Linked DNA regions of Homo sapiens: region 1 is linked to region 2. The links are contacts of gene promoters, found by promoter capture Hi-C in blood cells and fetal thymus (Javierre and others, 2016). All regions are on one chromosome and are shown on one strand. The core of a region is centred on a gene start or on the middle of the fragment in contact, and the rest is flanking DNA. Distances in the headings are between cores, read along the strand shown. Region 1 holds the start of PPP1R36 (protein phosphatase 1 regulatory subunit 36). Region 2 holds the start of SNAPC1 (small nuclear RNA activating complex polypeptide 1).

The links. The method cuts DNA at HindIII sites, captures the fragments that hold promoters and counts their contacts. A CHiCAGO score of 5 or more calls a contact.
Region 1: a contact is called between the fragment with the promoter of PPP1R36 here and the fragment with the promoter of SNAPC1 in region 2, in 1 of 17 cell types (neutrophils). The highest score is 5.7, in neutrophils.

What each region holds. Positions count from the first base shown.
Region 1 is chr14:64,546,395-64,552,424 of GRCh38, forward strand. It overlaps PPP1R36 (protein phosphatase 1 regulatory subunit 36), which reads left to right and starts at 3,567. Exons shown (of 12, transcript NM_172365.3): 1 at 3,567-3,672; 2 at 4,527-4,591. The coding sequence starts at 3,604. RefSeq lists a silencer at 3,433-3,722. The HindIII fragment of the contact is 10,629 bases long and covers 1-6,030 here.
Region 2 is chr14:61,759,732-61,765,039 of GRCh38, forward strand. It overlaps SNAPC1 (small nuclear RNA activating complex polypeptide 1), which reads left to right and starts at 2,689. Exons shown (of 10, transcript NM_003082.4): 1 at 2,689-2,857. The coding sequence starts at 2,730. RefSeq lists enhancers at 683-1,427, 1,428-2,171, 2,015-2,104, 2,172-2,915, 2,916-3,659. The HindIII fragment of the contact is 7,963 bases long and covers 1-5,308 here.

The sequences.
Region 1 (6,030 bases), core at 2,317-4,816, 2.8 Mb after region 2:
TAGAGAGGGTTTCACCGTGTTGGCCAGGCTGGACTTGAACTCCTGAGCTCAGCTGATCTGCCCGCCTCGGCCTCCCAAAGTGCTGGGATTGCAGGCGTGAGCCACTGCGCTTGGCAAAAGCCCAGTATTTATTATTTTTTTTGAGACAGAGTCTTGCTCTGTTGCCCAGGCTGGAGTGCAATGGCACGATGGCTCACTGCGACCTCTGCCTCCTGAGTTCAAGTGATTCTCCCACCTCAGCCTCCTGAATGGCTGGGACTATGTAGTAGAGACAAGAGTTTCACCATGTTGACCAGGCTGGTCTGGAACTCCTGACCTCAAGTGATCTGCCCGCCTTGGCTTCCCAAAGTACTGGGATTACAGGCCTGACCCACTATGCCTGGCCCCAGTGTTTATTCTTGATATAGCTTTTTATTTTTATTTTTGAGTTGGAGTCTCCTTCTGTCGCCCAGGCTGGAGTGCAGTGGAGCAATCTCGGTTACTGCAACCTCCGCCTCCTGGGTTCACGCAATTCTCCCGCCTCAGCCTCCAGAGTTGCTGGAATTATAGGCACCCACCACCACGACTGGCTAATTTTTGTATTTTTAGTAGAGACGGAGTTTCACCATGTTGGCCAGGCTGGTCTTGAATTCCTGACCTCAGGTCATCAGCCCGCCTCGGCCTCCCAAAGTGCTGGGATTACAGGCCTGAGCCACCGCACCCGGCCTTGATGTAGCTTTTGAAATGGAAATATTTTAGGGTATATGCAGTTCTGAAATTTAATAGGGTGATGCTTAATGTTAAAATGTCTTTCCCTTAGAACATACCAAGATGTCATAGGCCCTTTCTTCCCCTTCTTTCAGTGTAGATTAGGTTGTCTGTGAATTGAAGGTTTAGTAAATAAGCAATCAAAAATGGAGCTGCTGGCGCGGTGGCTCACGCCTATAATCCCAGCACTTTGGGAGGCCGAAACGGGCAGATCACTTGAAGTCAGGAGTTCGAGACCAGCCTGGCCAACATGGTGAAACCCTGTCTCTACTAAAAATACAAAAATCAGCCAGGCATGGTGGCGTGCCCCTGTAGTCCCAGCTACTCAAGAGGCTGAGGTGGGAGAATCGCTTGAGCCCGGGAGGCGGAGGTTGCAGTGAGCGGAGATCGCACTACCGTATTCCAGCCCGGGCGACAGAGTGAGACCCTGTCTCAAAACAAAACAAATGAACAAACAAAAAAACAGGAGCTGCCATCTGCAGATGTATAGTGTCAGAAAAAAAAATAATTTTTCAAAAATGGAGTTGTTAATTCAAAATTTTGCATTGCTGTTTTCTTCTGTGGAAAGTTAATTTTTTAAGGTAGAATTACAACACTATAAAAACCTGTCCATTGGCCGGGCGCGGTGGCTCACGCCTGTAATCCCAGCACTTTGGGAGGCCGAGGCGGGCGGATCATGAGGTCAGTAGATCGAGACCATCCTGGCTAACACGGTGAAACCCCGTCTCTACTAAAAAATAAGCCGGGCGTGGTGGGGGCTCCTGTAGTCCCAGCTACTCAGGAGACTGAGGCAGAATGGCGTGAACCCGGGAGGCGGAGTTTGCAGTGAGCCGAGATCATGCCACTGCACTCCAGCCGGGGCGACAGAGCGAGACTCCGTCTCAAAACAAACAAACAAAAAAACAAACCTGTCCATTATCTTTTTTATAGAATTAGCATGAATTATATTCAGTTAATGTCTTGGACCTAAAATCTGGGACCAGCAATTTAGTTATATATTATATGCTCTTAGATAGTTATATGACCTTAAGTTTCTCTTAATTAGGAAAAAAAAAAATTCCCTCACAGGACACTTGGAGTTATCAAATATTTAGAAGTTACCTTCATCCCTACTAAATATCATCAATTGTGTTTATTCTTCTTTACAGGGACAATCATATTTCCAGTTTTGGTTGTGAGTTTCTAATGTCATTTAAAAAGAAACCTAACTGGTGAAAAATGTACCTTAGGAAATCGGTGGGTCACTTTTTAAAATAAGTACTGTAATGATTAAGAGATGTAAAAACAATCTTTTCTTCCTCCTTTTGTTTGGGGTAAAGTGATAGAGAAGTATAAGATTGTCCCTTCAGAGTTACTGAAACTTTCCTTTAAATATTATGTCCCTCTATCACATGCGAAATAACTTCTCCTTTAATTTTTAAGTAGTTATTGTTTTGGGCTCTCAACTTTTATTTTTACCTAAGTTTTGTACATTAGACAGCCTAAGTTTATTCTGTGATAAGATATATAGATCTTAAGTTTTCTATCAGCACTTCTCCACACATTATTGGGATGAACTGAAGAGGTTTACTGACCACTAGTGTGGTCTTCCCGGTAATGATTATGTAGTGATTGGATGCCATCCAGATTCCTTGGTCTGTCTGCATCTTTTCTTGAGCTTTACCTCATTATTTCCCTGTCCTGTCCACCCCAAGTTATGTTCGCTACTTGGTGAAAAGCTCTTGGCATATGGGATAGTCTCCTTTTCAAGCGTGTCATCTTGTAGTAAGAAAGCCTTGCCTGCGGCCAGTATATAAGTGGGTTTCCATATACCTGGACCAACTGAACAGCTGCCAGAATGGACTCAAGTGAGCAGAACATGAATCTAGATGATTACTATTTAATCACTGTAGCCAGTGATTGTGTATTACCAAGTAGTGAGACTGGGAGGGTGGGAATAGAAGAAGCAGTGGGATGACTACTGACATAACTTAAAAGTTAATGGGAGTATATATCCACTACTTATGAGCCTCTCATACCAATTAAGCTGTGGTGATACAAAAGAATATACTAGGCATTCCCAATCATGTTGCATCATCTAGCATTGCTCACTTAGAGCTGGGAGGAAAAAAATCAGCCAGAATCAGCATTATCAACTCCGTTGCAAGAAGGAATTACAAGACACATGATTTGAAAAGTGTAAATGTAAAAATATCAATTGAATACCCATTGACACTAAGCAAGTTTCTTTGTTTTTGAGCAACACTAATTTTGAGTACTTAAGACTGGTGCTTTACACACACCACTCCAAAAATCCACATAACCCCTGATTTGGTGTTTTCAGAAGAAAGATCAGAATAGTCTTGTCCTAGATTCCACAGCTTGTTAAGCAGCACAACTGTTATGAAAACCTTATTTCCGTACCCATGTTCTCTTCCACGAGGCTACCCTGCTTCCCCACCTCAACCCTGCTCTCCCCATCAACCTAGGTTCATCCTGGATTTGAACTTAATAATAGTGCTAATCATGAAAGTTAGGAAGAAATGGATCTTTCTTCCCTATAGGACTGAATGTAGTTACTCCAATTAAAACAGTAAAGTGAATAACTTCATGAAGTTCAAGGTTGGAATGCCATGAAGAATTATGCCCTGGGCGGCTTTACAATGGATAGGCCAATACGTCGCCACGGCTTTTAAGACTGGGAAACGGGGCACCAGGCTGGGCTTTAGAAATCGCTGGAGAAGCCTGGGTGCGGCCGCAGCCCGCGCGGCCTAGGACGGAAGCGACGCCCCGCCCCGCTCCGCGCCCCGGGCAGCCGTGTGCAGGCGCCTGCGGGCGGTATCCTCGGCGACGCCGTATGGCTTCCAGGGCGAGGCCATGTACCGGGTGCCCGAGTTTTATGCGAGGAGGAAGCGGTTAGGTGGGCAGACCCCTTACTTGATGGATGTAAGTGCAGCCTTGGTCGCCCCCATACCCGGGCTGGGCGCAAGGCGGGCCCTGCTGCCCCCAACCGGCGCCGCGCCCCTCGCCCTCCTCCAGAGGCGGGTCGTCGCCTTCGCCCCGGGCTGGCGGTTCTCAAAGACACCTGGCCATATTTGCCTAGAAAAAAAAAAAACTCTGGTGTATTTGACAGATGGTCAGAATTGAATTCTGGCTCCCTGCGCAGGTAGTTAGATATTTACGAAATCCCACCTCACCACCTCTAATTGGTTGGTTGCAAAATAGGGAGACCTACTGCGGGGGAAGCAGCCCCGCTCTGGATAGAAAGGCTGGTGGGTGCTAGCTTCCACGGTGAAAAGGGTGTACTTAACTTTTTGCCACTGCCTGTAAAGGGCAGGCTCAGTGTTGGAGCCCGGAAGTCTCCAGAACCAGACAGCTGAGGCTGTCCTGGGTATCAGTTTATTGTCTGAATTTCAATTAATTGGTAGATTGCTATGATGAGCTATATGTAGTCCCAATTTCCTTCCTATCTTTCGCCCTTCCCTTCCTCCGCTGCTTCTTTCCTCTTTTCCTACTTTCCTCCCTTCCTTTCTCCCTCTCCCTCCTTCCTGCCGTTCTACTGAAGCCACACCTAAAATCAATCAAAGCGATAAAATCCTAGCTTCAAGTTTAACGCTTTAGGATTCTACACTCTTACTGAAAGTGTAAAGAGGGACTAGTAGGAACCATTGTTTTTTGTTTCCTTCTTATTACTTAAAAGATGTGTTAGTAAGTAGGAATTATTGTTAAAGGTTTATTGTGGCATATGGATTGTAAATTGAGCTTTTAATTATTTTTGCTGCAATCATTTCGTTTTACAGCAGTTGGGATTACGATTAGGGATGTGGTACTGGAAAGATGAAACCAGAACTCTTGAATTCAGAAGGTAAAATTTAACAACACTTTATTAGAGTTTTTATAAAAATTACATGTGCCTGGGGGAAAAAAAAGCAACAGAAGAGTATAGAGAATAAATACCCACTGAACCTTTGCCATCTGGAAGGAAACAATCATTTCAGTGAACAGCCTTTCTCTGAACGCTTACCAGCTGCTTCACATGGACCAGACACTGTGCTAATGTTTACCAACTCTTTGAAACAGCTGCATGTTAACCAATTTACAGATGAAGAAACTGAGGTTTCAAAGGGTTCAGCGACTTGAGGAAAATTAAGTGACTTAGCCCAATCACACAGCTCAGAGGTGACTAAGATTATTTAAATGTAGGTCTGTTTGATTTACAGAGTCCATGTTTTTAATTATAAAATTGCCTTTTTGAGTTAGAGAAATATAGTTAACATTAATGGGAACATATTATATCTGCTGCAATAGATGGTGAATCTCACAAGGTAAAATTACTAAATTAGAAAAAACTGATTCTAATCTCTATGAAAAAAGACACTGACTCTTACAAGTGTATAGCTAAATTAATACTAGACACTATCTGTTGTGCACTGATTGTGTGCCAGATATTTGCATATTTTTCCAATTCTTAAAACAACTGTGGAAAGTGAACATTAATGTCCTCATTTTATAGATGAAGAAACAAGGCTCAGGGAGATTAAGCAACTGAACCAAAGTCATACAGCCAGTAAGTAGCAGAACTGATAGTTTGAACCAAGATTTGTCTAATGCTAAAGCCCTTTTCATGTACTCGCTGTCTCCCTCAACTAGACAGTAAGCTCCTCAGTGGCAGGAACTATCTTATTCATCCTCAGGTCTCTGGAGCCAGCTACAGAACTTCTTCAGTAGGTACTCAACAAATATTTATTGAGCATGTTCAAAGAATCTGCTAGATTCAAGCAGAGGAAGAATAGATGCAGGTGATCCATTAGAAGACTAGTTGTAGGATTACAGATAATTATACAAGTAAGCAATAGCGAGAGTTAGAATTAACTCCAGGTTGGTAAAAATAGAAAGGCAAAGGACTAAGAAATACTTAAGAGAGGATTGACAGGATGTTTGGATAGGATTGATAGGATGTGGGGATTGGATGTGAAGGGAGAGGGAAAAGCAGTTGTTTAGATTGGCTCCTAGGTGTCTGACTTGGGTGATCAGGTGGCTGGGATTGCCCTTCACCCATATACAGCATTGAAGTGACAAAACTGGTGGCTGGGTGTGGTGGCTCAAGCCTGTAATCCCAGCACTTTGGGAGGCTGAGGCGGGCAGATCACCTGAGGTCGGGAGTTTGAGACCAGCCTGGCCAACATGGTGAAATCCTATCTCTAATAAAAATACAAAAATTAGCCGGGCGTGATGGCGGGCACCTGTAATCCCAGCTACTTGGGAGGCTGAGACAGGAGAATTGCTGGAATCTGGAAAGCAGAG
Region 2 (5,308 bases), core at 1,439-3,938:
TCTGAATGTCTCCCAAAATCAATGTGTTGAAACTTAATTAACAATGTGATAGCATTAAGAGGTAGGGCCTTAGCAGGTAATTAAGTCATGAGGACTCATGAATGGGATTAGTGATTTTATAAAAGGGCTGGAGGGAACTAGCTAGGCCTCTTTTGTCCTTCCGCTATTATGCCATGTGAGGACACGGCAACAAGGTGCCATCTTGAAAGCAGAGAGCAGCCCTCACCAGGCACGGAATCTGCCAGCACCTTGATCTTAGATTTCCCAGCCTCCCAGAACTGTGAGAAATAAATTTCTGTTGTTTGTAAGCTACCTATTCTATGGTATTTTGTTATAGCAGCAGAAATGAGCTAATACGTGGTCCAACAAAGACGTGTGCACCTCTTCCAGCGATTGAAACTATTGTTGGGGAGAGGTTGCCTAATTAGTGATGACGTTTCTCAGCCACCTTTGCACCTGAATGGGTCCATGTGACTGAGTTCTGGCCAATGGAATGTGGACTGAAATGGTGTATAACAGTGCTTCTCAAATTATCTGTTGTAATGAACCATTTCCCAAATGGTTCCCCCACTCTATCATGGGGGAAATAATGCATTTTGGCTCACTGCAACCTCTGCCTCCCAGGTTCAAGTGGTTCTCCTGCCCCAGCCTCCCAAGTAGCTGGGATTACAGGCACACGCCACTACGCCTAGCTAATTTTTGTGTTTTTATTAGAGACGGGGTTTCACTATTTTGGTCACGCTGGTCTCGAACTCTTGACCTGGTGATCCACCCACCTCAGCCTCCCAAATTGCTGGGATTACAGGCGTGAGCCACTGCGCCCAGCCAGTTGCAATACCATTTTCATAAAACTCAAAACCAACCACAACTAAAAAATATACCGTTTAAATATACATACATATGTGATAAAATATATACATGAGAAAGAGAAACAAAATTCAAGGTAGTTATTTATTTATTTTTTGAGATTCGGTCTCACTCCGTAGCCCAGGATGGAGTGCAGTGGCACGATCTCGGCTCACCACTGCAACCTCTGTCTCCTGTAACCACCATCTCCCAGGCTCAAATGATCCTCCCACCTCAGCCTCCCGAGTAGCTGGGACTACAGGTGTGCACCACCATGCCCGGCTAATTTTCACCATGTTTCCCAGGCTGGTCTCCAACTCTTGTGCTTAAGCAATCCTCTTGCTTTTGTCTCCCAAAGTGTTGGGATTTCAGGCGTGAGCCACCGTGCCCAACCAGTAGCTGTGATTAAAGTAGGGTACAGTCAAAGGAATAGGTCAGAGGAGGAAATCGCAGATTGATGTGAAGGCGTTGGTAATGTTCTGGTTCCTACACAGGTGAAAGGTGTACAGGTGTTTAACTGCTATGCTTTTTATCTCACACATCGCATAAATTTTTCTGTGACATAAAATATTACATAACATTTAAAAAACAGGTCAAGAGGGCAGGGTGCAGTGGCTCACGTCTGTAATCCCAACACTTTGGGAGGCCGAGGGGAGCGGATCACCTGAGGTTAGCAGTTCGAGACCAGCCTGGCCAACATGGTGAAACCCTGTCTCTACTAAAAATACAAACAAAACAAAACAAAACAAAATCCGGTTGGAGTGGTGCATGCCTGTAATCCCAGCTACTCGGGAGGCTGAGGCAGGAGAATCGCTTGAACTCGGGAGGCGGAAGTTGCAGTGAACCGAGACCGCGCCACTGAACTCCGGCCTGGGCAACAAGAGCGAAACTCCGTCTCAAAACAAAAAACAAACAAATCCAAACAAACAAACAAACAAACAAAAACAGGTCAAGGATCAGAAAAGTAAAGTGAGTTGACACTCCATTTACACACAGAAAGCCCAATGTTTTTCTATTATATCAGGATACCTCTTCTAAAGAATGATAGCTTACCTTTCAATCAGAGAAATGATCTAAAGTTCAAAATGTTACTCCATAGCTAGCTCCTGGAGGAAGGAAGCTAGGTGGCAGCGTGTACACAAAAAGGCAATTCATCCAAATAATAATATAACAAGAATATAACAAGTAGGTATTTTCTGCTAAGTGCTATGTAGCACAGGGGTGAATGCGTGGCAGGGCAGGAGGAGGGCTGTTTACAAGAGGGTATGAAATGCAGCTCTTCTTTTCAAGAGTGGTTGCAGAATGCCAGGGCTACAAAGAGAGGGCCGCACATTAAGCATCGTATTATGTGGGTACAGAGTATTAGGGTTCTCGATGACCAGAAGGAGAATGAGTGCAGTTTGTTTCCTAGCAAGCCTTCTTTAGCTTCTCTTCCCAAGTGGGAGTGGGGTTGGGGTTGGGACTGTTCTTTCCTAGCTCAAAAGTTCACTTATGTCACACTAGGGTCAGTTTAAAGGAGAGTGCTAGTAAGGGTAAAGTCAAGTTACATAACCTAGCGGAAAATGAAGACCTAAAACCGCTCGTGAGCAAACACAACACTTTAGACGTAAACCTCTTCCAAAGAAGGGTGGATCTCAGCACTCTGGGTGAAAGCAATCTCAGCCAGTAAAACATCAGAACGCTTTCACGCACGCGCAGTAAGCACACGACCGGTGGCAAGAGCCCGGATAAAGGCGGAGCTAAAGGTGCCGGATAATGCATCACGGAGCGCGTGTGCGCACGCCGTAGGGGGCGGGCCGTTCGGGCTTGGTTTCCTGGGCGACCACCGCTGGCTAGTCCGTTAGAGGCGTGCGGGCTTCGGAGGCGTGCGGGCTTCGGGTGCCATGGGGACTCCTCCCGGCCTGCAGACCGACTGCGAGGCGCTGCTCAGCCGCTTCCAGGAGACGGACAGTGTACGCTTCGAGGACTTCACGGAGCTCTGGAGAAACATGAAGTTCGGGACTATCTTCTGGTGGGTGTTTCTTGTCCACCACCCGCCTCTCCCTGCCCGCAGGTGGTGTAGAAAGTTGCCTCCTTCCCGGCGATATTGCACTTGTGAAGGGCTGAGAAGAGCGGCAGTCACCGAAGGTTGCCTCCATGACTCCTGGACCTTCCCCTGTGCTCAGGCAACGCGCTTTCCCTGCTCTATTTCATTGTGCCCTGATGGTTGTTGCGGCCTCCTCCCAAATATGCGTCTCTGCCTGGCCTCCCTTCTAAACTCCTCTCTCCCATCTCCACCCTGAGCCAGGCCACTATCATTTGCCCTTCCCCAGTCTTGTTCTAGGACCTGATGTTTAAAAACACACAAGCAAAGACAAAACCCTTCAAGATTGAATTAATTTTTCCTCCAACAACCAAAGTTGTCTTTTTTTTTTTTTTTTTTTTTTTTTTTGAGACGGAGTCTCCTTTTGTCGCCCAGGCTGGAGTGCAATGGCGCGTTCGCGGCTCAGTGCAACCCTTCGCCTCTCAGGTTCAAGTGATTCTCTTGCCTCAACCTCCGGAGTAGCTGGGATTACAGGTGCCCGGCACCACGCCCGGTTAATTTTTTGTATTTTTAGTAGAGACGGGGTTTTACTATGTTGGCCAGACTGGCCTCGAACTCCTGATCTCGTGACCCGCCCGCCTCGGCCTCCCAAAGCGCTAGGATTACAGGAGTGAGCCACCGCGCCCGGCCCAAAAGTTGTTTTTCAAAAGTGCAAATTTGATTATGTCACTCCCCGACTTATTACTCTGTAGTGGTGCCCATTGCCTTTGGGATAACGCTTGAATTCTCTGACTTGCCAAGACCATTCCTCACTGGCCTTTGCCTATCTCTCCAGCTTCGCCTGCCAGTCCCCTCCATGCACTCACTTTCTTGCTCCAGCAGCTGCTTTTTTTTTTTTTTTTTTTTCTTTGGGCCCTCTACAGGCTTTTCCTAATCCTGGAGTTTCCACCGCAACTCTCTTGTTTTGTCCACCTTATTCTTCACTCAGGGTTAAGCTCAAATGACATCCTCGGGGGAAGTCTTTTTTGCTCTTCTAGACTGAGTACGCTGTTCATGTTTTTTCCCCGCATAGCACCCTGTTTTTATTTTATGTCACCGCTTTCCACATTTTGTTGTAATGGTATAGTTGAAAAGGCAGTGTGGGATTGTTAAGGGCATAGGTTATGGAACCCAATTGGCTGCATTTGATTGCAGGGTCCGCTATGACTTGGGGCAAGTTACTTGAGTTTCCATATCTGTAAAATAGAGGCAATGATAAACCTCATAGTAGTTGTGAAGATTAAATGAGCTGATATATCAGAAATACATTCTAAGTGCTCAATAAATGTTCATTATTATTATTTTTTTTTCTTGAGACATAGTCTTGCTCTGTCACCCAGGCTGGAGTGTAATGGTGCGATCTCCTATCACTGCAACCTCCACCTCCCGGGTTCAAGAGATTCTCCTGCCTCAGCCTCCCGAGTAGCTGGGACTACGGCTTGTGCCACCAAGCCTGGCTAATTTTTGTATTTTTAGTAGAGACGGGATTTCACCATGTTGGCCAGGCTGGTCAAATGTTCATTATTACTACCGTTTTAAAATTTTCCTTTGACTAGACTGACCTCTGTGAGGACAGTGACTGGATGAATCTATTTTTATTACCATAGTACATATAATATTAAAAAGGCGAAATAACTGATTTTCTGAATGAGTTAAACCTTATGATTAAAACTTTTTCTGAACAAAATGTAAAAACTCATTTTCTCTCTGTCAGTGTAAGCAAATTACCTTTGTAGTTTTTTAAATTGCAAGGAATGGAGGATGAAGAGCTGTTTGTTGTACAGTTAATAAAAGGAGAGAGACTTTTTTTTTTAAATGGCTACTACATGCCATTTATTTATAGCTTTATTTATTGCATAAGACAGTTATAAAAAGCAGGTATAATTATCCTTGTTTTATAGATGAGGAAATTAAGGCTTAAAGAGGTTAAGTAATTTCTCCACCATTACAAAGATAGTGGATTGTAGAGCAGATGTTGGAAACTATGTATCTGCCTGTTTCTAAAATCCGTTAATATTCCACTGTACCACTTCTTGGGGGGAAAAATGCATTTAAGGAAAAAGCTAAAAATGTAACATTTACATTTTCTAGTAGGGAGAACCTAAAATGATAAAAGAAGCAGGAATCACTAGAGTGGTGGATTTTCTTGAGAAATTACTTTGGTTACCGTAACTAGAGTAGGCATTTTGTATTCTTTTCCTATATTTATTATTTGAAGACCCAAAATGTCCTCCTACTACCCCCTTCCCTTCCACCCCTGCATTGTAATCAGATATAATAGAGCCCGTGTTTATGGCTGCAGGGCAAATGTCTTTATTGTTTGTTGCTGGTTTTAAAGTAAAAGTTCTACATATTTATATTTGTATAGCGTATTAGTCACTCGCATCAACACTTTGAGAC